Linked DNA regions of Homo sapiens: all the other regions are linked to region 1. Evidence: promoter capture Hi-C in 16 types of primary human blood cells and fetal thymus (Javierre and others, 2016). All regions are on one chromosome and are shown on one strand. Each heading gives the region's core, a stretch centred on a gene start or on the middle of the fragment in contact. The rest is flanking DNA. Distances are from core to core; before and after follow the strand shown. Region 1 holds the start of EML4 (EMAP like 4). Region 2 overlaps MTA3 (metastasis associated 1 family member 3). Region 3 holds the start of KCNG3 (potassium voltage-gated channel modifier subfamily G member 3). Region 4 holds the start of LINC01913 (long intergenic non-protein coding RNA 1913). Region 5 has its middle 20 kb from the start of LINC01913.

Region 1 (5,157 bases), core at 1,514-4,013:
TAGTTGTAACCCCAGAAGAACTTCACGTTTTGACTTCTTGTTTAAAAAAAAAAAAAGTTTTTAAACACCTACTAGAGTAGAAGTGCTTGCCTTTATATTCATGGCTCTCCTGATGGTAAAATAAAGATCAATGTAACTCTAAGCTCTAGGCTAATTAACTGCAGAGAACAGAAACAAGCAATTTGGCAAGAGCTGAGCAAAGCTCCGCTTAAAGACTACCAGTAAAATATACCAGCACTACTCCTCCCCCACCCCTTTAAGGTTTCAATTAAGATGGGGCCTAGTTTTACTCTTGCAAGGGGGACAGAAAGAGAAAGCACAGAGCTCCCACTGAGAAGTATCTTCATCAAGAACAGCTCCAGAAATACTGCCAGGAACCATTTCCTTCCCTCTCTGCAGATGCAGGTTCCTCTGATAGGCATATCTCCTCTGCTCCTGATTAACACCATATCTAAAGGAAAGTCTCATCACATACCACCCAAAGCATGGCATCAAATGAATTTTTTAAATCCAACATTAGGGTCAACAATGACGCTCTTTATGAAAAGTGTGAGCCCCAACTGCAATTCATCTTCATCTCTCGGTCTTTTGTATCACTTGCCTCATAAACTGGTTAAGAAAGAAGAAAGCTATTACAAAGCATAATCAATGTTTGAAAATAAACATTAAGTGCCCCAACTGGTGAGAAAGACTCCTCCTAAACACTTACAGAAGATGAAGCTTTAACAAGCCCTCCAGAAATCTTTAGAGCCAACACGAAAGAAGTTAAAGTGATCTCACCACTCCTACAGGATGAGGACCCAATACAGTATAAAGATAGCACAGCTCTCCACAACATCCCCTAAGAAGACACTCAATTTTTACTTTAGTATAAGATCAGCCCTTCAGCGGACATATAGGACAAGTTTTTCGGTCCAACACTTACTGTGAATAAACCAACGCATGGAGCTAAAAAAGAACCAGGGAAAAATGGATGTCTCTCTAAAAAGAGCCCAACCTAAGTAAGGAATTACAAGACATCAAAGGTTAGATAATGGACAACAGGTGCCTTTGAGGAGGAAAGAGTAACACAACACTCAGTTGCCTCCTATTTTAGGATTTCCACTCTGAAAGCAATATAACGACAATTTTTTCTGCCCAAGAAAAAGGGAAGGCCAAAATTATAGGTTTTACTATTTAATATCTATAATAGGCCCATTGCTCTTTGACTTACTTTTTTACTTTAGATTTTAAAAATCCATCTCATCTCGATATTATCTGGATATAGTACGGCCTATGGCCAGACTGCTCACTGATCAGTGAACATTAACCAAGTAGAGACTTATTATCAAGAAATGTAAAAGAAAGGCGTCTGAATACAAGCTACCTGCACATAAAAAACTCAAAATACAGTTCCAGCAGTAGGTATCACACAACTGCGTTATCAGCCAAAGCTGAAACTGTTTCTCTCACCATTCTAACAGTTGAACTTAATCTTTTACTAGATTTCAATGGCCTCGAAGAATAGTAATTCCAGATTCAGCTTCTAGGGCAGCGAATACTAGCCTGGAGTTTTGATTTTCCTAGCCAGAAGATTACCTTCATCTGGTGAAAGGAACACTGAAAAGGCACTTCAGCCTATTTAATAACCTCTTCCCTTTCTCCATTCCACAAAGACAACATCTTCCAAAAATGGAGAATCCTTTCCTTCCCTGATAGAGGCCCCCTTTCCTATTGATTCATTGGGCAGAATCACTTCTCCCCAGCATGTATGCAGAACCAGAAAACACTTCTGCTTTCACTCTTAAAGAGGGTCCCCCAACACAGATGCACCTCTTCCTTTCCTGCATTAAGCAAATGATGCTCCGATGCTTCTAGGTCTCTCCACCACTGCAAAATGCTCAGAGAAGTGGAGGGATTGAAAAGGAAGTTGCCTACTACTCTGAAGGATACTGGAAAGTCGCCTTCAAATCTAAAGTGAAGACTTGGGGGCGGGGGATGCCCCCTTCCTGAAGAGGGAATGAGGGTCCCTCCCCTAAAAAGGAGCCTCTGTTCGGGTGAAGGCGATCCCCACCCTGAAAGAGAGGCGTGTATGTGGAAAGGTGGTGGAAGGTTGTACCCTGAAGAGGAGCCTGGATTTGAAGAAATGTCCCAACTCTGAAGGGGGGTAAGTGGAGGGAGCCGTGAGTGTACGGGGAGGGGTGTGCCAGCTATCGGGGGGCCTGAGAAGGAAGGGGTTCCCACTTTGGGGGAACGAGGGCCCCGCACTGAAAGGGGCTCCGGGAGGAAAGGAGGGTCTGACACAGAGGAGAGTTGGACATGGGGGAGGGGCCCTCAGTCCACCGGAGTCCGCGGAGGGGCGGCAGCCTCGAAGGGAACATGTGCAGTGGAGCCGCTGCCACCCCGAGGGGCAGGCGGGAGGGCAGGGCCTGGGCTGTGTGCGGAAGGAAAAAAGTTCCTACCCTTCGCAGAAGACGCAGGACTCCCCAGCCGTACTCACCGAGACTGCCGGCGAAACCGTCCATCTTGCGGGGAAAGCGCCGGGCTCCGGGCTTAGAGGGGCGGGCACTTCATTCAGCGGACCGACAGAGTGGCCGACGCTGAGCCTGACCCGCTCGTTCTCTAGGTCGCCCGGCTCGGCTACCGGCTCCCGCCTCCGTCGTCCGTCCGTTCGCCCTGGGGTAGTAAGCCGCGGCCGCCCGAACCACTTCCCCGTCACGTTGAGAGCCGCGCCGCTCAGCCGCCTGCCCGGCCTCCCTCCCAGGCAGCAGCCGCGAGCGCCGCGCCGCGCCGCGCCCCGCCCCGCCCCCGCGCCCGCGCGCAGCAGTAGCCCCGCCCCGCGCACGCCGTCACACTTCCGACTCCGCCTCCCACGTGACGCCACGGAGGCGGGGTCTTGCCAGCCCCGCCCTCTCACCTTGCCTCGGCCTCGGCGTTTGTCCGCCTCGCGCCAGGCTGGTGGTTGCGCCTGCGCGGTAGGCCTGCTGAAGGCTGGGGACCACGGTTTGGAAGCTGGTTCCAAACAGGTGGGGATAAGGCATAGACTCTGGCCTGCGATACTCTGATGCATGAAGGATCCTCTCCCTATGTGGCCCCTGGGAAGCCCGCAGAGCCAAGACTGGACCCCCGTGACGGGAGATGACCACCACGTGGGTCCTACAAGGACACTAAAGAAGCAACCAAGAGGGAGAGGTTCTCCCTCTCCCCCAATAGGGTGGGGGACAAATAGGGGCGAAGCTTCTTGACTAGCTCGATACCACCACTGCCACAGCCGCAGGGCCCGGGACAGATCAGAAGCAAGGAATTTTAGTGCTGGACATGACCCAAAAGTTCATCTTGTCTAACCCTTCTTATGAAGAAAAACACAGAGCCTTAGAGAGGACAACCTGCCCAAGGTCATCGAACCTAGTAGAAGCAAAAACTCAGCCTTCCTTACTCTCCCTAGCGTTCTGTCGTCTAGGGGTGCAAAACGACCATATATGGCAGGCTATAGGATGGCCTGCTAGGGAACCATAATAAGGGTTATTTCAAATGAAGTAACACTGAGTTCTAGGCCCAACTCCGTATGACTCAAGAGTGTCAAATCACCTAATTTATTTAGGCGTCACTTTATTCATTTGCAAATTGGTTGTCTGGACATGTAACCAAAACATGTAAATATACATAGCGTTCATATTCTTCCTCCCTTCCCCAACACGATTTCCCATACTTCTAAAGACTTTCTCATGGTTTGTCAAGTCCCTCCTGGGGCTCAGTTGTGCAGATTAGAGTAAGAGAGAGAAGAGCTGTAAGGTACTGAAGAACTGAATTGATCTATACATAATAAATTGATAAATACATAATAAAAAGCTGAGTTAGGGGAAAACAGAGTCCTACTACACAGAGTTGCAGGAGAGAGGGACAAACAAGAAGGGAGACAAGAAATATGTAATGATGAGAGAGACTTAGAGGAATTAAATGATTGAAAGGATTGTTAAACCTTCTTGGGGTATACGTCTCCCTTTGTTGCCTCTTTAAAAATCTTCCCTAAAAATGTAAATTACTTTGCATTTCTTATTTGGATATAAGACCTGTTTCTGAATACCATACTATATGGAGACTGGCCATAACGCAGCCAAGATAAATTCAGGTTACAGACTAAACGGTGTCTAAAATTTCCTTCTCTTCAAACTTAAATGATTTACCCAATGTTCCTTCTGCTATGGGCATTTTCATATGCATAAGTTTCTATTAAGCCTAAGTAAATGTTTGAGAAGTTCTCAATTCTGACAGCTGTTCCTTTGTGTCTTCAGGCCACACTCTCTGCCTTAGGTCGATTAAAAGAATAAGAACTTGGCATATTGGTATACATATGTTTTATGGTCCAGACCTGGAAGTGTGTACCTCCCTTTTGTCCACATTCCACTGGCCAGAACTTGGTCACATGACTGCAAGGGAGGCTAGGAATGTAGTCTGTGTATCCAGAAGGAAAAGAGACATATTTTGGTAACAGCTCTCTGGTTTCTGCCACACTCCCCTTCGTGGCATTCATCAGAGTTAAAATTTTTCATTTGCTTGAATGATTTATTCAATAAGCATCTCATTCATTATACTGTATACTACAAGGAAAGCTGTTAAAATGTAGGAGAGTTAGTACATCCCAGCAGTTAAGAGTGCAGACTCTGGAATCATGCTGCCCAGATTCACATCCCAACTCATCATGTACTAGCTATGAAACACTGGACAAATTACCTAACCTCTCTGTGCCTCCATTTTATTGACTGCAAAATGGAGATGATAACACTTCTACTTCTTAGAGTTTTTGAGAGGATGCTATGAGGTAATATATGTAAAGCACTTAAAACAGGGCACAATATGTTATAAGTGCTCAGTAGGTATTAGCTGCTCTTATTTTGTACCTGTTTTTGCTCTCTATTATATACTTAGTGCATATTACAGAACAGCTTTTTGATAAATATTTATTGAATAATGAACAAACATAGAAGAATTCTGAAAACTAGTCAATCTGAATACATTGTTTCAACAACCAGTGCCTGAGTGTTTTAAAGCAGCCAGAATTTTTGTTTTATATTTATCAAAGTACATCTTGCAATCTAAGCCTCTAATACTACTATGATAAAATAAAATTTAACATACATCTTTCAAAAGTGAAACCATAGCTGAACATTATCAAACACA
Region 2 (5,157 bases), core at 1,391-3,890, 490 kb before region 1:
TAGCTCACTGCAGCCTCGAACTTCTTGGCTCAAGGGATCCCTCCACCTCAGCCTCACGAATAGTTGGAACTACAAGCACTCACCACCATGCCTGGCTAATTTGTTTTGTTTTGTTTTGTAGAGACAGAGTCTTGTTATGTTGCCTAGGCCTGTCTCAGACTCCTGGCCTCAAGTGATCATCCTGCCTCAGCCTCCCAAAGTTTTGAGACTACAGGCATAAGCCAGTGTACTTGGCCATAAAATGATGTTTAAAGGAATTAAGGTATATAGGTAGAATCCTCTTTAAAATGCTTCTTTAAAATATCACCTTCACTGACAACAAATACCAAACCTCTAAAACTGCCCTCTCCCAAAAGAAATTCACCTGCTGTCCTGCACATTCACCAGCAGTGGGAAGCAGTGAGCTGCTGCAGCTGTGAACCAAGAGCCCACACAGGCCCTCTCTACCTCAGGCAAGTCAGCCCAGCTGCCACGAGAACTCTCCACCATCTCAGGAACAAGCTTTTCCACTTGCACTCAAGCAGGGACCACATCCCCAGTTATAATCTGAGAAGCAGTATCTCATAAGAATAGTGTTAAACTACAAGGGACTGGTTACATAAATAATAGTTTACCTATATAAGATCATGCAACATTAGGGTAAAACTAAGTTCTTGCAGTGATTTTTAAAAAGGTATTTTTATCCGGCCAGGCACAGTGGCTCACACCTGTAATCCCAGCAACTCTGGGAGGCCGAAGTGGGCAGATCACGAGGTCAGGAATTCGAGACCAGCCTGACCAACACGGTGAAACCCGTCTCTACTAAAAATACAAAAATTAGCTAGGTGTGGTGACGTGCGCCTGTAATCCCAGCTACTCGGGAGGCTGAGGCAGAAGAATCACTTGAACCCGGGAAGCGGAGATTGCAGTGAGCCGAGATCGCACCACTGCACTCCAGCCTGGGCGACAGGGCGAGACTCTGTCTCAAAAAAAAAAAAAAAAAGTATTTATATAATATAGTTAGGGAAAACATAGGGGCGGTGGAGGTCATTTAAAACAGTTAAAAAGAAAGTTCACATAAGACTTAGTTATCAAAATGTACTAAAATGTGGTGCTTGCACAGGGAAAAATAGATCTACAAAACAAAAGAGAATAGATTAAAAGTCTATAAACAGGCCTAAGTATATCTAGGAACCTAAAATATGATAAAGGGGCATTACAAATCATGAAGAAACAAATTCAATAAATGGTACTGGGACAATTAATTTAATATATGAGAAAAATTAGATCCCTACCTCACTCTATTCACAAAATTAAACTCTATATAGATTTACAGTCCTAAATATGAAGAAAACTTTAAAACCATTAGAAAAAACAAGACACAAGAAATATATAAATTTATATATATAAATATAACTCTAGTTATAGCCTAAAAACTCACACACATGCTCACAAAGGGATATGTGTGAAATTTTCAACATAGCATTATGAGTAACACAGCAAAAGAAAAACGTTTTGAAAGCACTCCAGATGTTCCCTGGTAACAGAATACATAAATAATGTTGTGTAGTATTATATACAAGAATATTGGAAATAATAGAAAGCAGTTAAAATGAATGAACTGTGTTTATATTTATTAACACGGCTAGATCTCAATAATGGGCAAATGGCAAGTGTTACACAATAAATTTAAGCATATGCAAAAGAATATTTATGTTGTTTTGGAATAATAAATAATACAACTATAAAAACACAGACTACATACATAGCAGATCTGTTACAGTGGCTGGCTCTTGAAAGGAGGCAGAGGTAAAGGGAAGTAGGACTCAGAAGGGAATATTAGAGACTTCAACATTAACTATAATGGTTGAAAAAAAAGTTTTTTAACCTGAAGAACTAAAATATTAACATTTGCTTTAGGTGCCCTTATATGGAGTTTTATTACATTATCCTCTATACTATTCTGTAATTTGCTATTATTATGTATAATGCATAAAAAAGGGCTTAAAGAAAACAAAACAGTAAGAACATTCTACTCTGGGTAATGAGAACAAAGCTTTTTTTGGCTGCTGCTGTACTATTTTTTAATTTTTCATAACAGATATACATTAATTTTTAAATTGAGCAAAAATCACTTTGACCAGGAAAAATATATACAGGTAGTTATTAGATTCCACATAGTTCTGGTTCACATAAATATCTTTTTCTTTTTTTTTTTTTTTTTTTTTTGAGACAGGGTCTCACTCTGTTACCCAGGCTAGAGGGCAAGTGGCATGAGCATGATCTCAGCTCACTGCAACCTCTCCTCCCAGGCTCAAGCAATCTCCCCATCTCAGCCTCCCAAGTATCTGGGAAGACAGGCGCATGCCACCACACCCAGCTAATTTTTGTATTTTTTTGTAGAGACAGGGGTTTCACTATGTTGCCCACCTTGGTATCAAACTCCTGAGCTCAAGCAATCCACTGGCCTCAGCCCCCCAAAGTGAAATATCTGATTTTTAAAGTTCTTGCAAACATGACATCTGTACTCTTGCTTCTCTGATAAAATATTCTCGAAGCTCTAAACAACTGAAATACAAACCCATTTTGGAGATCCTAAAATTTGGGGTAAAATATTAATGTCCCAATGGAGAAAACAAAACTTTCTTCTATGAACAATTCTAGTCTTTGAGAAAGGAAAAGGCAAGGAGTTCCACAGCTTTAGTCACAATCTATAATTGTACAGAAGTACACAAAATGCATAAGAAACAAGGCTGGGAGCAGTGGCTCACAACAGTAATCCCAGCACTTTGGGAAGTCAAGGCAAGAGGACTGCTTTAAAGCCAGGAGGAGTTCAAGACCAGCCTGGGCAATCACATAGTAAGACCCTGTCTTTATTTTTATTATCTGATGTGTATTCCTCTATGAGTTCTTACATTATCAAAATAAATATTTTATGAAAAGCATGTCAAATTGGCATTATGATAAGAAAGTTAAAAACCCATATTGTATTCCATTTCATTAGAAAACAATATTGAAACTTTTGTTACATGTAATGAATACTGGTCAAATAACCTCACCAAACTCAGTTTTCTCGTGTGTAAAATGAGCATCCTACCGTGCCTATCACAAGGGGTAACAGGAATCAAATACAGTAAGTAACTTCAATCAGCAAAAAACTCACAGGTCCACTTTTCTGGAGTGCAGAGAAAGCAGTAAGTGCCAGGTCCTATGCCTGACCACGGCAGCCATTAGTGGTAAAATTAAACTGAATATAGGAAGCTTCATTTGATCACCGAAAGAAAAAAGTAAATAGATTTAAAAGATATCAACTATAATGTAATAAAATTATATAGAAAATAGCCCCTCTGGCCGGGTGTGGTGGCTCATGCCTGTAATCCCAGCACTTCGGAAGGCCGAGGCGGGTGGATCACAAGGTCAGAAGTTTGAGACCAACCTGGCCAACATGGTGAAACCCCGTCTCTACCAAAAATACAAAAATTAGCTGGGTGTGGTGGCACGTGCCTGTAATCCCAACTACTCAGGAGGCTGAGGCACGAGAATCACTTGAACCCAGGAGGCGGAGGTTGCAGTGAGCTGAGATCATGCCACTGCACTCCAGCCTGGTGACAGAGCAAGACTCCATCTCCAAATATAAAAAGAAAGAAAAAAAAAAAAACAGCCCCTCTTTCTAATGAACAGACACAAAAAACTCTCAACTCACAGACGAGTGTTATCATAACCCAGTCAACCAAGTAACCAAGCCAAATCAACCTAGCAGTCAGGAAGGCTAAGAGCCCAAAAGCTCCCGGTCTACAGTATTGCCACAATGGCTTTAAAATTAAACAAGTAACAGAAGGATAAATACCCACAAAATTTCAAACCATGTCTTACCAAGGTGATGTCTCGGGAAGCTGCAGCAGCACTCATATGCAAACTAGGCTGCCTCACAGAACTGCTGCAATCCAGGGCTCTGGCGAATGTCCCAACAGCACTGAATAAACCACAAACACAATAAGGAAGAATTAAGTATCTGTTTTGGTTTGTTTTTTTAACGTTTTAAAAAACACATTTGGATAGTAAATAAAAAACTGTAAAAGAAGAGGCAAAAACAAGTTTCTGAATGAGAATCAAACATCAAATAAAAAGAATTTTCACTCTATAAGATATAATAATTGACAAGCCAATTTACTATAAACAGGTCGTTATCATGAAATCAAGAAAAAAAATAGCCTGTGCAGGGGGTAAAAAAGAAGGAAAGGGAAGCTCTGTTATAACATGTCATGGAGTAAAACATTTATTCAAATTGGCTCAAAAAATAAAAAGTCAGCTGCAGAGTTTGACTATTACAGCAAAGCAAGTTTTGACTACTTTTTAAGCCCAAATTGTAAAACTCAGTTACATTTTTCCCCCAATATATCATTAACTGTAGCAACCCCTTCCTGTGAGGATTCAACATGAAACAGATTTCTACTAAAATCTCATTTAAAAAGAAATTACCATAATGCTGATTTTAATGATTTGGAAGTCCTTCCAATATGTAAGAAACCCTAACCTTAACACATACAGCATAAAATGAAGACTCACTGCTTTTCCTGCCTGTATTTTAAACATGTTTGCTATGGAAGAGATTTTTTATTTTTATTATTTTTATTTTTTGAGACAGGGTCTCACTCTGTCACCCAGGCTGGAGCGCAATAGTATGATCATAGCTCACTGCAGCCTCAACTTCCTGGGCTCAAACAATCTTCCCACCTCAGCTTCCCAAGTAGCTGTAACTATAGGCATGCACCACCACGCCCAGCTATTTTTTTTTTTTTTTTTTGGCTAATTAAAAAAAATTTTCTGTAGACAAGGCCTCCCTATGTTGCCCAGGCTGGTCTGAAACTCCTGGGCTCAAGTGATCCTCCCGCCTCGGCCTCCCAAAGTTTTGGGATTATAGGCATGAGCCATTGTGGTTGACCCCTAAGGAAGAAATTTTATAAATATTTTAATTAAAATACAACAAACATGTTGAAAAGTACACAGTAAACAGATAGTTACTGTAAAGTGAACACATGCATGCCACCAACATACAGTTCAAGAAAGAACATGACCACAACCCAGAGGCTCCTCAAGCTCCTTTCCACAGGGAACCACCACCCTGGATTATAGCACCACAGATTAGTTTTGCTCAAATAGAATCACACAGCTGGATAT
Region 3 (5,157 bases), core at 1,599-4,098, 330 kb before region 1:
TACCCTTTGACTTATACCTCCCTGTATTAGAGCTCTGTAAACAAGACCACTCTGAATCTTGGGATAACCTCATAGTGCTATTGAGTTACAGCTCTACCTTTGTAATCTGAGAGACGAAAATAGATGCCCCTTAATAAACTAAGACAGACCCTAAGATAAGGAAACCAAGTTACTGATGGGTCAAGGGCTCAGGGCTTGGCTGGCAAATTTCTAAATTACTGTGGCTAAACTCCCTAAAAATAGGAGTTTTCAATTCTGTTATACAACCCAGATGACAACAACTCTGTCTGGATAGACAGCCATTACAAACATTCTTTTCTGATGAGCTGCTGCAGACCCCAGGTCAGTTTCAGCCAGCTTACAGAGGCAGCACACAAGCTGTCTTTGTGGCCTGTAGTTCACCTGTTGACATAAAGAGCCAAATTCCACCTCATTTTAATGCTAAAGCCCCATCACAAAGTGAACACGATGTATGTTACATATATGTGTACCAATTATGCATGTGTGCGCCTCCCCCGTAAGTATGTATAGCTTTTCCCCCAAGCCTGCTGACTATGTATGATACAGGCCCTGTGAGGCCTAAAACCCAACCTGTTATTTCCCTCTTTGAAGAGAGAGCACCTTCAGTCCACACCGGAGACTTTCTCTTCCTGGCTTGCAAACTGATAACAACAATAAAGCTCTCCTTTCTACCATTCAGCCATCCTGGTGGTCTTCTGAACACCTTCTACAGGGGTCATTCTGCACACTGGGCTAAGTCATTAGCCTTTTATATTTTAAAATGAGAGAAGTTTCCATTTGAATTTCCATTCGAAAAGCTGTCTTTAAAAGTACCAACTGATTCGGCAGAGGCTGAGAAATAAACTGATGTAAATGCAAACATTGAAAAATATGAATTAACAGCAGGGCAAGGGCTTTTTAAAGCAGACAGAGTTGATAAGTAAGCTGCATGGAACAGTAGTGCCCACAGGGTATTTCAATTTCTAAAGCTTTGGGGGAAACGGTGTTTGGAGTCCTCGAACACATCCAGTTATGCAATGCAAAGTGATGGAGGAATCTGTGTTCAAGCCAGAGTCAGCAGTAAAAGGGTCACAACTTTTTACTGAATTTTTTGTTTCAGGTTACTCTGTTGTTGGTCACATGTTTAGACAAATCAATTCACTTATCCAATCTGTGTTTATTTAGAACCCAGGAATGAGAAATGAGCATGGCTGATTTGGGCTAAAGGAAGCATACATGAAGTGAGATGTTTCTAGTGTCATGCACTGAGCTATATACCACCTTCACATCAGCTTGTGATCTTTTCATTACCCCTTTGGATGTAGGTATTATTATCTTCATTCTACGGAGGAGAAAAACTGAAGATCAATGAGGTTTAAGGAACTGGCTCCAGGTGGCTTAGCAAATGAGTTATACAGCCAGGGTTTGAGCCTAGAGAGAGCCCTATAGACAATCTGGACTTTTTTTTTTTTTTTGAGATGGAGTCTCGCTCCATCACCCAGGCTCAAGGGCAGTGGAGCGATCTCGGCTCACTGCAACTTCTGCCTCCCGGGTTCAAGCGATTCTCGTGCCTCAGCTTCCTGAGTAGCTGGGATTACAGGGGCGCACCACCACGCCCAGCTAATTTTTGTATTTTTAGTAGGGACGGGGTTTCACCATCTTGGCCAGGCTGCTCTCGAACTCCTGACCTCATGATCCACCTGCCTCGGCCTCCCAAAGTGCTGGGATTACAGGCATGAGCCACCGCGCCTGGCCAATTTGGACTTTATTGTATGGACAATTTCTAATTATCTACTTTTATATACTCCTTTTAGGTTTTGTTTGTTTTGTTTTTTTTTGAAAACCTCTAGTTTCAAGAGGAGTTTTGCTCTTGTAGCCCAGGCTGGAGTCCAATGGCACAATCTCAGCTCACTGCAACCTCTGCCTCCCAGGTTCAAGCGATTCTCCTGCCTCAGCCTCCCCAGTAGCTGGGATTACAGGTGTGCACCACCATGCCTGGCTAATTTTTTGAATTTTTAGTAGAAACGGGTTTCACCATGTTGGCCAAGCTGGTCTCGAACTCCTGAACTTGGGTGATCTGCCTGCCTCGGCCTTCCAAAGTGCTGAGATTACAGGCGTGAGCCACCACACCCAGCCACCTTTCAGGTTTTTGAATTTGGGAATGCCCTGATGAAAATGGATGGAAGGAAGAGCTCTGTGGTGGCCTTATTCAGAATTCATAGAGATAGGAAAGAACTGGAGTGCAAAGAGATGAGGTAGAAGGTTGTGGCAGCAATCCAGGCCCTGGAAACAGAGTGAGCAGAGTTTGACATGAGAAAACCTGATTCTAGCCTCTGCCAGGATGCTGCTGCTGGGAATGCTCGGGCTAGTTACAGCCACATCTCTGAAGCTTTGTAACTTCGGAGGGGAGGAAAAAATGGGAGTAATTTGCTTTTTTTTTTTTTTTTTTTTCCTAGGTTCTGAAACTAGAAAACCTCTAGGTTCTTTCAAACTCTAAAATTCTACCTTTAAATTGTAATGCATTCTAAAGATTTAGATATGAAGACCCTAAATACCATCCCGAGTCTAGGAGAGAATCTGGATGTAATACTTCTCAACATTATCTTCTCAAAGTACAAAGAATAGAATTGGCTTTAAGAATGCTCTCTAAACCAGATTATATTGAGACAAGCCTATCATTTCTGCATCACTGTTTTCTTTGTTTAAGAAAACGATTTGGGTATTGCTGCTGCAGCAGTGGTTGATGATATTAAAATCAAATAAAAATATTACTCTTGAAACAAATGAAATGATTTAAGCCTATCTCTCTAAGAAATCGCATGAAAATATACCTAGGAGGCACACATTGTATTGTCATCAAATTAATTTGTTTTCTAAGCTCAAATGTAATTTAAAATGAGATATTTCTTCAACTGGTTCAATCAACAGACAGTAGAAGGATTCTACGGAGAGAACACAGGAAATAAACCCTACAATAATGTTAGAGCAAACAATCGGCACTATAGTTCTGTCTTCTATTGCTTGTGATGCTTCTAGAAAGTATTTTTTAACGGCTTCCTGATGAATTGGCTCTTGGTATCAAGCCAGGCTCATCTCTGGCTCACATCTGCAAACTTTTCCCCATCCTCACGTCCTACAACAAATCCATCTTCAAGACCTGCAAAGTTCTTGGTCTCAGCGTTTCTCAGAACAGACCCTTCTTCATCTTCACAGACACGGGGTTGGGGATCCCATTCCTGGGTTGCGAAATGACCTTCTCCTTAGAATGACCCAAAGTGCAAAGGCATCTTCCTGAAATAAAGCTTTCATCAAGCCATTTCTGCTATGGAAACCTCCAGGGATTCCATTGCTTATGGGATCCAATTTAAATGCTGCAGTTGAGATCCCCATTGTTTCAGTGGGCAAGTGCATTATACTTCTTCACAGACTTTAAACCTCCACATTCGAGATTTTGCTACTAGGAATGTTTTGCCCTTTCTCTGTGCCAACTCATGGCCATCAGCACCTCCAATTCTGTCTTGAAACTCACTTTCTTACAGATATTTTTCTTGTTTAATATCTACTTAGTAGATACTAAACAGCAAAGTAGCAGTATCTACCCAGTAGACACTAAATAGCAAAATAGATACTGAATAGCAAACTATTTAGTAGATACTAAAGTAGCAAATAACTCCTGTTTTTGAGCTTTTAATCACATTTAGTGCTCTTAAGATAAATTATCCAAGTCTGGGGATAAACAACTCACAGAGATTTTCATTCTTTAAGAAGCCACCGAGAGTGATTTTACTTAAAAGACAGCACTCACATTTTCAGTTGTCTGCCTTTTCACTAGGAATCCACTTAAGAACCAGCGCAAAAGGACTCCGTTTGGCGACCTCTAGCGGGCACCGGACAATCCTACAAAATTACGAAAAGTAGAGGGCAATGAAAAACTCTTCCCTTTAACCAGCCAGGTTACCCTGTGGTCAGATGACCGCATCTCACCCTACCCCACCCTTATTTTTTTCTTCTAGTATTTGTTTTGCATCTAACACGGTTCGCCTTACAACTCACCTGTCTCGCCTCCGGCGGGCTGGGCTGCCGGTGTCGGGTGTCAGGTGAATGAATTGCTGGTAGCAGTTTAAAATAATCCCTGCCAAGTGGAACCCGCTTTCTGGGCACGGACAAGAGCGCGGGGTAGATCGCTCTGCGGAGCCTTCACGGGGCTCTTCCCGCTCGGAGGGCCGGTGCTGCAGCCGGGTCAGGGGTGCGCGGGGGAAATCAAGATATTTTGAAAAGGAGGATGCAGACGAAGACCAAGAGAAAGGCTGTTTTTGCCGGTGACAAGGCGTTCCTCCCCAGACTTTCATCCCACTCTAAGGGCAGCATCTCGAGAGGGTCCAGGCGCGCTACACGTTAGGCGCCTTCTCAGGACTCGCGCCCCAGAACGTGGGGGCCGGGGCCGGGTCGGGGACCGCTTCCCTCCGCGGGCTGGCAGGCGGCACCGAGGCTGGGGGATGGGGCGTGTAGCCGCCCTCTGAGCACGCGGTACGTGGGTCGCCCCGCGCGGCGGTAGGAAGAGCAAAGTCGGCAGGAAAAGCCGTGGCTGGGATGCCTTCCCTGAGAAATCCTTAGGGGCGATGTCAGAACCCGAGCTGGGCTCCGGACAGTTTCTGGAAAAAGCTCTCCAAACGCCGTCTGTCCCCGCACCCGAGTCCACACTGGGCTTTGAACCAGGGCTGTTAAAAGGGGCCCTGGGGACTGCCCAATTCATCCCGATGGCCCAGGGCAGGACGCGGGAGCAGGCATCCCGGCGCTGGGCTCCCCGCTCCCCCGCCCTGCGGACCCCTCCCCGCCACTACGGGCCGGAGCGGAGGGGGAGGACGGCGTCACGAGGCGGGGAGCCCGAGGTCCAGGGCGGGGCGCCCGGGAATCCCAGCCCGAGCAAGCCGGGGAGGTGCGGGCGCGGGCGGGAAGCGGAGGGCGGCGCGGAGGGAGGTGAGCGGCGCGCGCGGAGCCGGCGGGCGAGGAGGAGGACTGCACAGAGGCCCCGCCCCCGCCGCCGCGAGCCGGCTCTTCGCCGCCTCCGAACCCGCTCACTTTGCCTCTCGCCTCTGGACGGCGGCGGGGCGGCCGCCGGATTCGCGGCCGCAGGGAGCGCCGGAGACGGGGAGCTAT
Region 4 (5,157 bases), core at 1,022-3,521, 290 kb after region 1:
CAGCTGCGACTGCCCTCCTCTGCATCTGCTAAGTGGGCATGACTGGCACCCACCTCTAGAGCTGCTGTGAACATCGAGTAGCACCGTGCATGACCTGGGTTTGGCATGCTTGGCATGGAGTGAGACCCCATAATGTTAGCTACTGTTGTATTAATAATAATTTATTTTCAATATGACTTATTTAATGGAATGGATGAAGCAAAGGACGAGATTCAGCGGGAAGGGCTGGGCTTCGAGACCTGATCCTTTCTCATTTTAATGCTGCTCCCTCACTGTGGTCAGCCTGAGTGGGATCGGCTGCCCGGCCTTCATTTTACCTTTGTTGCCATCTCTCTTTGCGGTGGTTCTTTCTCTTCCTCCTCCTCCGCCTCATAAGCAAAGGGTAAGGCACAGTTCTGAATCTTTGGTTCTGTAAAGAGGCGTGCCCATCTCTGTGCTTGATTCCACTGGAAAAATAAGAACAATTCCTATTATTTTCGGTTCCGAGACCTTGAGTGTGTCAGGCTTCAGGTTCACTTCCTACATCTCTCCACGTTGCCCGGATCTGCAAGTAATTTAACCTTGTTTTTATAGAGCGCAAAGACGTTCCGCTTGTTTACACTGGAGACAAATTTTCCTCAATTGACGCAATCCTATTGATTAAATAATGACCTTCTTCCTCATTTAAAGGTAATTTCGGTTGGTATCATGACGTGGAGGAAGAAAATGAATGCCTTTTCTGTCTTGCTGTCTGAAGGGCAGGCAGTGAGGGCCGACTCCCAGAGCCCTGGGCAGGGCCCTCTCATTTTTCTCACCTGTTCTGGAACTTCATCAGGCGTCGGAGTGGGGCTAGTGCTGGGACCCCTTGAGGAGGTGGGCTAAATAGGACCAGTCTTGATTAGGGAAATTAAAAAGCCAGCATTTGCTATGTAATAAGATGTCAAGGCTGGGGCAGAGTAGATGCTACTTTGTTTTAAAACTTGATTTGCTTTCAAGACTTGTACGTAAATTACTTTTCAAGCTCATATCACACGATATAGTCCGGGCATGTCATTTGAGCCAAGGATTTAAAATCAAAGGGAAAGGCAATGTGCAAGTTCAGGAAGAACTTCAGGGAACAGCTCACACAGGAGAGACACAAAGATGGGAGCCTGGGGTGGTGAGAGAGTTGTTGGGTACTCTTGGGTAAGTCCTTTAACTTCTTCTGGGTCTAGATTCCTCATTGGTAAAACAGGGGTGACTGGATCAGATGACTTCTAAGGTACTTTCTTGGTTCTATGTTCTGTGATACGATGGAATCTGGAGACCCGGTTATTATTTGCTTCCATTCCAGATCCGTGTACTGTCTATTTCCATAAGGATAAGACCAGTGGATGACATTTGGAAGGATGGGACCTCTGTTGTTCCATTTTCTTTCTGTGAGGTCAGGTCAGTGCATTGTGTGTTAGCAATGCCATTTAAGAAATAGATATCCCTATATGTTCTGTAGGAGAATGCATATTTTGCAATGATCTGAAAAATTATCCTAATGCAAATACAGAGTGGCATAAATACCATGGCTGGACAGGAGCTAGACATGAATAAAAGAAAATCGGAGCTGACATTTTAAAGGTTTTTGCCCTATTATAGGCACATCTAGGCATTCCTTCATTTTCTCTTTACCAGAGGTTGGCAAACATTTTCTGTAAAGAGCCAGACAGTAAATATTTTAGGCTTTGTGGGCTATAACATCTTGGTTTTAGCAATTCAACTTTGCTGTAGTAGCAGAAAAGCAGTCACAGGTAAGATGTAAACAAATGTGTGTGGCTATATTCCAATTAAACTTTATGACCCTGACATTTGAATGTCATATCCTTTTCAGGTGTCACAAAATATTTTCTTGATTTTTTTCAACCATTTATAATGTAAAAACCATTCTTAGTTCATAGGCCTTCACAAAAACGGTCGGTGAGCCAGATTTGGCCCCATAACCACAGATCGCTGACCTCTTTTCTTTATTACAGTCCTTTAAGGGAGGAAGTATTTTACCGATGAGAAAAATCAAGGCTTAATGGGGTTAAATAACTTGCCTAGGTTTACCAGTTAGAAGCAAAAGAGCTGGAAGGTAATCTAAAAGGCCAGGTTCAGGCCGGGCATGGTGGCTCATGCCTGTAATCCCAGCACTTTGGGAGGCCAAGGCAGGAGGATTACTTGAGGCCAGGAGTTCGAGACCAGCCTGGGCAACATAATGAGACTCTGTTTTTATATATTTAAAAAAAAAAAAGCAGGCATGGTGGTGCATATCTGTAATCCCATCTACTTGGGAGACTGAGGTGGGAGGATAACTTGAGCCCAGGATTTTGGGGCTGCAGTAAGCCGTGATCATGTCCTTGACCCCCTCCAGCTTGGGTGACAGCAAGATCTTGTCTCAAAAGAAAAAAAAAAAAAAAAGAAAAGCCAGATTCAAGAGCTTAAACACCTACCCTTTAGGGATATCCAGCTAGAGTGATAGAATGTGAAAGACTTTGCTCCCTCTGACATTGATAAATAGTTACAAAATCTCCTTTTTAATCATTCTTACTTTTTCATGATGGTTCACATTCAAAACATTAGAGCAAGATTGGTGTCTCACAAGGCCGGGATACCTGGCTGGCTTAGAAATTACATGGGACAATAACTCAAAATGTGACTGAGCAGGAGGGAGGAGTGAGATGAAGAAACCAAAGAGTTCTGTGAGTACCAGGATCCAGGGAGAGGCCTGGCCACCCTTGTTTGGCCTGGGGGCTGGCTCAGCTTCTGCATCCTAAGGAGGAGATGCCACACCTCCACTGCCTCCCATTCTTGTTCTTGAAGATGATGCATCTTGGAAAGTTCTCTGATGCTTGCCTTTTTTTTTTTTTTTTTTTTTTGAGACAGAGTCTCGCTGCGTTGCCCAGGCTGGAGTGCAGTGGCAAGATCTCAGCTCACCGCACCCTCCACCTTCCAGGTTCAAGTGATTCTCCTGCCTCACCCTTCTGAGTAGCTGGGACTTCAGGCACCTACCACCATACCCAGCTAATTTTTGTATTTTTAGTAGAGACAGGGTTTCACCATGTTGGTCAGGCTGCTCTCGAACTCCTGACCTCAGGTGATTCGCCCGCCTCGGCCTCCCAAAGTGCTGGAATTACAGGTGTGAGCCACCATGCTTGGCCCTCTTAATGCTTTTTAATATTTCAAGAATGGACAGACTGTCTCCAGAGCTACACTGTCACCTTCCAGGGGTGGCCTATGTCTTCTGTCTTCTCCACACTTAGTACAGTCTGGGCACACAGAAATGCAATGATGCCAGGTGAGTGAGGCCTTTCAGTTCTAAAACAGGGTGCTTCAGGAAGTCGTGAGCTGCCTACTTCTGGAAGTGTGTGGTGATGCTGCTGTCAGCAGATGCTGGTGTAGAGGACCACTGCGGGTGGGAGGTGAGAGTGGAGGAAGGTTCGACGATCCTATCCATCCATGTAATAAACATCTGCTGAGCACCTAATGCATGTTGGATCCAAAGTCAGAAGCCCCCACATATATGATTTCTTTTGATTTCCACAACTAGCCTCTGACAGAGGCATGTGATCCCAGTGGCTAGATGGAGAAACTGAGGCTCAGAAGAGCTTGTCATTTTTTTTTTTTTTTTTGAAAAGATGCAAGCAGCGGGGGGCAGAGTCAGTGTAGTCTGCTTTCTGCCTTCCACCACAGGCCCCTCTATCGGGCTGTGTGGAGAAATGGGCTCCAGTTCTTGCTGTGACCCTCGCTAGATGTGTGGCTTCAACAAGTTATCTGACCTCTCTGAGTTTGTTTCTTCATCAGTTTAAGGGTTGACTTTTGGAGATTTGTCATGAAACAAAAAGAGATATTATATAAAAGTGTCTAAAACAGTGGCAGCCATGGCACAGGTTACAGTTGCTTTCTTCCTTCTGCTTCAAGATGATTTGGTTTTGTGAAGTTGACTGAGTCATCAATCTTACTCAGTTTGGGATCTTTAGGGCCTAGCAGAGAGCCGGGCATGGAGCAGACACTTAATAAATATTTGTTCAACGAATGGATACACAATGCTTATATCTACTGATGCCAACCATCTGGATACTCAAATGCTTCAACATGATGGGTTCTTGACTTTTCATCTAAATATTGGATGTCATCTTAAAATATAAGCAGCTAAAATGACGTGAAACATAAATATGAACACAGGTCTCACTGATGCAGATTCCTTGGGGGGAATGTGTAAATCAGTGAAAGTCTGCATAGGGCTGTATTTAAGGAAAGTGATTTGTTGTTTTCAAATAACTCCAGCTATGTCACCAGGTTTATTTATTTACCATCCATCCACCCATTGATGTAATCAGTCAACAGTGGCCCAGAGGGGCTCTTTGGGTGTCCTTTAATAAATAAGAAAGATTATCTGGAGCATGTTGGTTATTTGTAGATACATAGAAGCAGCTCAACTGCTTATGGGAGCTTGGAAACAGTTCGTGCTCAAGTGTTTTGGACATTCCCCCAATATTCTGCATACATTGTTTCTGTGCCTTGTCTCTGAAGAATCTTTATGCTAATTTACGGTCATATTCTTCTCTGCTAACGGGGGTGGGAATGCAGAGAGCTTCTGTCTGTTGCCTCTGAATGTGTGCAGTGCATGTGAAGAGAAAGAGTCAACACAGGCTAGATTCCCTAGGGAGAATCTCATTCTTGATATTGAGAACAACTTACTTGACTTATAGGAGTGAAAATCCTATGAACTGGATGAGGCTGTGCTATTATTCTTGGGATGAAAGATGGATGGAAAGACTCCTTTTATAGAAATTATTTTTGATGACTCAGGAACACTGTGATACCTTCAGGTCTACTGAAATGTACATGGCTATTTATCTCTATACTAAAATGACTCCAGCTTTCTATGCTTTTGGGATTCCTATTTGTGCTTTTGTTGCTATCTTGTGTCTTTCAGCTAACCTCACTTTTTTGATTCCCAGTATGCCTCTCACTAGCAGTTCAGTATCTTTCTTCTAATTTGTTGCCTGCTTCCAATATTCCAGGGACTAAACAAAAGAAGTAATAATAACAACAACAAAAATTCGGAAGGGTAAGTCTGTTAGAGCTGTTTGTGAAGCAAGAATGAAAAGAATCCAAATGAGTCTGAAAGGCCTTTCTGTGACTGCTTGGCATGAACTTTGGAAC
Region 5 (5,157 bases), core at 1,903-4,402, 270 kb after region 1:
CATTTATATTACAATACTGAGAAAGGTGAGTTCAAAAAATTGCATTTGTGGCACAATATTGAGAAAGATCATTTTCATAAAACTAGCAACTTTTTTGGAATCTCATCCTGTCTTCAGCTCCAGAATTTTTAGAGAGCAGTTGAAGAGACCTCTTTCATTTTGGAAAACTGATTTCAGCATAGGAAAATAAGCCAGATGATTCTTTGCCAAATGAGTTTCCCTAAGATATAATTTCACTAAGAATGAGAAAACTGAATAGCCATTTGCATATTTGTGATAATTCTTAAAGAGATACCCAAAAGGGTTAAATGGCTTGTGATATTTACTGAAAAGGCATATACTTTGATCCAATCTTTGCTGGTGAGCTGGGGTATTTTTGTTGGATGATATGAACAAGTTAATAACTTTTCAGCTGTTCCTCCCCTCCCACCCATGAAAGACCCCGACATTACACACTAACTACCCTTTATTTATTAGAACAGACGAGTGTTATGACTACTGCATATCCACTTTATCAGGCAAAGCACTGAACTCTTTATGCTTTTAGCCATGGGAGTAAGTCCCATTCACTAGGCCCATGATATGTGTTCTATTTTAACTTTTTAGCACAAGGCAATTCCTGGTGAATTATTTAGTTTCCCTAATTGTGCAAAATTGGCCACCTTAGATTTAAGATTCATAACAAGGTCAGTGTTAATGCTGATCATTTCAGGAGCTCTGTTTTGTAGCCAGGCTTACTAATTTTGACCTGTCTGCTTTAAGTTTTTCAAGGCTTCTCAACACACAAAGCTAAGTAATTTCCTGAAATTGTGCCTGTGATGGACACCATGACCAAAAGTTCTCCAATCACATTGAAGTCTCTTTGGAACCATAAATAAATATAGCTGACTGGGTGGTATTATTTTAACTGGGCTCTCATAAGCTTCACTAGGAAATGCCACAAATGATTTAACTTTTTCACACAACCTGTCCTGTAAGTTCTCAGCCATGTCGTCATCTTGTTGAGCAACCAGCGTTTCTGTTTAGTCTTCCATTTGCAAATACTTGTTTTTGTTCAAGGTATGAATTTCTCTATCCTCAGTAGATTCTCTTTTGTAAACTCACCATTAATAAAAGGTTTCAATGCATGAGCAATATTTTCTCCTTCTCCATAACTTCATTTCACAGTTGTGTCATTTGTTTTATTTGCTTTGAAAAATAAAACATGTTAAAACATCAGTACTTTCTTTTAGATCGTTAAGTTTCCCTACCAGCCTCACAGCTTTTTTGTTTGAATTCTTTTGATACTGACACATTTCATTTGCATGTCAAACTTGGAAGAATGATTTTAACTTCTCCAAAAATAAAAAGCTATTTTCCGTTTTTTTTTTTTTTTTTTTTTTTGCAAACATGCAAACACATAGCTCTCGTTGATGCTCTTTTGTGTCTGTCCTTTTGCTTGAGTTATGGATATGTATGTATGAATGTCCATATAAAAGTTACTTTCTTCCCAACTCTGTTATAAGAAAATCATAGTCTAGGACGATGATGAGTGACTACTGACCCTCGGCCTCAGTGATAGGAAGAGAATGGGGAGTAGTGAGGGGTATGGTGGTATGGAAAACTACTCAGCTCCAGAGGACTTATTCCTTGCTGGAATGTGATTTCATTATAGACCTTCTAAATTCTTAAAACTTAAAGAAGGTGTAATATACAAATAGAAAAGTGGATCTATTTTAAGTATATGGCTTGATAAATTTTCCATGAATAGATCATAGATTGAGGAACAGAACAGCATCAGGACCCATAAGGCCCCTCACACTCCTTTCCAATTGAGACCTTTCAGTTTTTTTAAGAAAAAAGTATTTGGATTCATATGTGAACTCTCAATTTCTAACTTTTGTCAAGTAATTGAAAACATTAAAAAAATCCCTTGGGCCAAACAAAACACATCTCTGGCCAGAGTCAGCTCAGAAGACTACAGCCTGAAACCTCTGGTTTCCATGCTTTTCTTACTGTCTGGCAGCTCACACCTCTCTTCTCCTCCATCTAGAGGGGTAGGCAACCATGTTTCTATGTCATGATACCAGCCATGGTTGACCGGGGTCTTTCTCTGGGACTCTGGAAATGGGACACTGGAATTCTCTTTATCCTGGTGATGGTGCCAAAAGTGGCTCCAGGCCTAGAGCAGGCCCTATTCCACCATCCATTGAGGAGCAGAGAAAGCTGATGCCCACAGCGAGAAGGAAGCAGAAGTGCAGAGTGAGAGAGTGGGAGAAACTGCTTGGTTCCCCAATGTTTTTCCAGTTTTTGAGTTCTTGGTTCTAGCCCCTCCTGAGGCCAGTATAGATAAGGGCTGAGGAGCCAATTAGGCTGGTAGGCTTCTTCAAGAATTCCAGAGGAACAGTCAGGTGGGTGGATCAGAGTAAATGATGCTGGTGACAGCCAAGGACTGGCAGCCAAGTGGGCGGGGTCTCCATGTGAGACACTTCTTCACTCAGAGTCACATCCTAGGCCAGTGGGCTGGGATCAGGGGTAGAAGGCCCAGCAGGCAAGTAAAAGATGTATATTCCCTCAGGTGAGCTTGTAACTGAGTTCTAGATTAAGAAATGTTGGAGACTGAATGATTATTTCCAATTCTCCACTCCCTCCCTGCAATAGAATTATATACCCATGCCCTTTGCCATATGGCTTTACATGCACCCTACTAGAGGAGGTAGAGCCTATATTCCCATGCTGTCAGCTGTGGGCTTGGCCAGTTACCTTGCTTTGGCTAATGGAAATATGGATGGACGTGACAACGAGACAGTTCTGAATTGAGGCCTTAAGAGTCATGGGAGGCTTCCACTAGCCCCTTTGTGTGCTGCTTCCATATGTAATGAGAAGAGCCTATCCCAGGTAGCTGCTGGTTCCAGGAGAGAGATATGGAACTGATCTGTACCCAACTCACCACCTGAATCACAGCCCTTCTACCCAACCCACAGATTGTGAGTGAGGAAAATAAATGTTTGTTTTTGTAAGCCACTAAGATTATGGGATGGTTTATTACATAGTATTATCACAGCAATGTCTGACTTATACAGAGAAGAACTGGGTCCTAGGCAAAATTAGGGACAGAAGAGCCTGATTGTATCACAATGGGCCCAGGAGAGGGGAGAGGAGAGCTCAGGCTCAGAGGCAACGTGGTGCAGGAATGTGGGTTCTTAGAGGTCATCCCTGAGGGCACCAGATCCATGTATGATTGGAAAAGGGAAATGAGAGTGGTCTGGGGGAAATACCTGTCACCTCATTGATCATCTGGCTTGAAGGAAAATCAGGAGGAACACAGGAGCCAAGTAGTTGTAACTGAGCTGGTGACATTATTCCAAGCCGTTGTATCTGCTCAAACTTTACATACTCTCCAGCTTGGTTAGCATTGACTCAGGAGCTGTGAGCATCGGTGGATCTAGTTGTGAGGATCCTGGGAGGGTAGCAGCAGGAAAAATAAGGTAAAAGAGGGCACCAGCACCACAGCTCTCAAATGCTCACAAGTGTGAGTGCCTGTGTGTGGTTATCTGACAGCTCTTTTATAAATCTGATGGTTGCTTTCTACCCACCTGCTTGCTGTTTTTGTTGACATCTCAACCTGGAGTGGGTTTGAGGCTGGGAGGCTGAAACATACTCTGACCACATTCACCCACTTTCTGAGAACTTGCAGGCTCAGATGAAGCCTGTGAAACCACAGACCTATATAGGACAACTAGATGAACACGGCACAGTGGGGTGGCCAGTGATATATGTTGCCACAGCAGAGGATCCTGGGCAGTCGTAGCACAGACAGGGTGTTTCTGATTTTCCTTCTTGAAATTCCTCTTCCCAGGGGCTTCCAAGCTCAGGAAGCTCTTGTCATCTCCTAATCGAGGCAGATGAAGATGGGAGTTCTGTAGGGAGGCGTTTCCACTTAATCAAGGCCAGTCATACCCAAGCTCTAGGATTAGACAGATCTGCAGATCTGCGCAGTTACTTGGGCAGCCTGTTTTCTGTCTCTGCTACCTTGTTATCTGGCTCTTCTCTGAATTCCTGTAGCTTTTCCAGGACTTAAACAATGAGATTAACAGCTATCATTTTTTGAATGCCTACCATATGCTAGGCTCTCTAGTGGATCTTTTACAAGTATTATTGATAATAACAGCAAAGATAACTAATATTTACTAAGCATTTGCTAGGTGCCAGGCACTATGCCAAGCCCTATACTTGTATTAACTCACCGAGAATCCTCACAACGAGGCAACATGGGTGTCATTATTTTTATACACAAATAATAAACGGTGGAGCTCACTCCACCATTTGGATCTAGATCGGTCTGACTCCAGAGCTTTTGTTTTTTCACTGGTGATGCTCTCTTGCTTGATCTTGCTCTCTAGCCATGCCAGGACACTGTGCAGTTGGGCACGATAGGCTGGGGCAGATGCAGAGGGCTGGGATATGGAGTTAGATCAGGAGGATGAATGCAGGATGGTAGAAGTCCAGTGAGTCGTTCATGAAGGAGACAGGGATAAGGTTCAACAAGAAGTATGGTGAGGCCCTAAAAGGCAAGAGGAGCAGAGGTACAGACAACCCAGAAGCCATCAGATGTCCTGGCAGGCAGTCCAGGGGCAGGACAGCAGATCCTGGAGGAGACAGAGCTGGCCACAGCACAACTCATAGTTCTGGCTCTGCCCTTTACTAACTTTTGGGCAAATGACTTACCTGCCCTGAATTTCAGTTTCTTCATTTGTAAAATGGGCATAAAGAAACCTCCTTCATAGGGTTGAAATAGCTGAATGAGATAGCAAACATAAAGCACCAGTGACAGTGCCTAGTCCTGAGGATGTGCTCCACACATAGACTGCTACGTTTCTAAGACAGGCTCAGGCACAGAGACAGGGAGAACCCAGGCTATCATAACTGAGAGTCAAATAAAGTGCCCCAGGAGCAGCATTCTAACTAACCTGCTGACTGGGATTAGTATTGGTTTTAGAGACTGGAATGGGGTTAAGTGACCTCATTTCCATATAGAGGGTGGCTGAACTGAGTGGACAAGCAGGTACTGGTTTTTTCATAGATGGGTGTTGAAATCCCAGCCCCACACAGCTGACAGGCTCTTGTTCAGGACTTTGGACTTCCAGTCTGATGTCCTTTCGATGATACTGTGCTGGT

Evidence for each region. Contacts are between HindIII fragments. The CHiCAGO score rates a contact against its expected background, and 5 or more counts as called.
Region 2: a fragment that was not itself captured here is called in contact with the fragment with the promoter of EML4 in region 1 in 1 of 17 cell types (fetal thymus); the score reaches 6.5 in fetal thymus.
Region 3: a fragment that was not itself captured here is called in contact with the fragment with the promoter of EML4 in region 1 in 1 of 17 cell types (fetal thymus); the score reaches 7.5 in fetal thymus.
Region 4: a fragment that was not itself captured here is called in contact with the fragment with the promoter of EML4 in region 1 in 5 of 17 cell types (naive B cells, total B cells, total CD8 T cells and 2 more); the score reaches 10.8 in naive B cells.
Region 5: a contact is called between a fragment that was not itself captured here and the fragment with the promoter of EML4 in region 1, in 1 of 17 cell types (total CD8 T cells). The highest score is 6.1, in total CD8 T cells.

Annotation. Positions count from the first base shown.
Region 1 is chr2:42,166,959-42,172,115 of GRCh38, reverse strand. It overlaps EML4 (EMAP like 4), which reads right to left and starts at 2,763. Exons shown (of 23, transcript NM_019063.5): 1 at 2,480-2,763. The coding sequence starts at 2,504. EML4-AS1 (EML4 antisense RNA 1) reads left to right here and starts at 1,885. Exons shown (of 4, transcript NR_110584.1): 1 at 1,885-2,146. RefSeq lists silencers at 2,752-2,811, 2,912-2,961 and enhancers at 2,377-3,029, 3,042-3,181. The HindIII fragment of the contact is 2,496 bases long and covers 723-3,218 here.
Region 2 is chr2:42,658,558-42,663,714 of GRCh38, reverse strand. It overlaps MTA3 (metastasis associated 1 family member 3), which reads right to left. Exons shown (of 17, transcript NM_001330442.2): 8 at 3,853-3,952. Among named protein-coding and RNA genes, the nearest start is that of MTA3, 93 kb to the right of the region's middle. RefSeq lists an enhancer at 86-135. The HindIII fragment of the contact is 1,205 bases long and covers 2,038-3,242 here.
Region 3 is chr2:42,493,903-42,499,059 of GRCh38, reverse strand. KCNG3 (potassium voltage-gated channel modifier subfamily G member 3) reads left to right here and starts at 5,078. Exons shown (of 2, transcript NM_133329.6): 1 at 5,078-5,157. It also overlaps a transcript of MTA3 not described here. RefSeq lists an enhancer at 3,757-4,051 and silencers at 4,806-4,885, 4,976-5,025. The HindIII fragment of the contact is 913 bases long and covers 2,392-3,304 here.
Region 4 is chr2:41,872,939-41,878,095 of GRCh38, reverse strand. LINC01913 (long intergenic non-protein coding RNA 1913) reads right to left here and starts at 541. Exons shown (of 3, transcript NR_033996.1): 1 at 318-541. The HindIII fragment of the contact is 6,409 bases long and covers 1-5,157 here.
Region 5 is chr2:41,895,215-41,900,371 of GRCh38, reverse strand. No RefSeq gene overlaps it. Among named protein-coding and RNA genes, the nearest start is that of LINC01913, 20 kb to the right of the region's middle. RefSeq lists a silencer at 3,599-3,648 and an enhancer at 3,779-3,828. The HindIII fragment of the contact is 4,455 bases long and covers 925-5,157 here.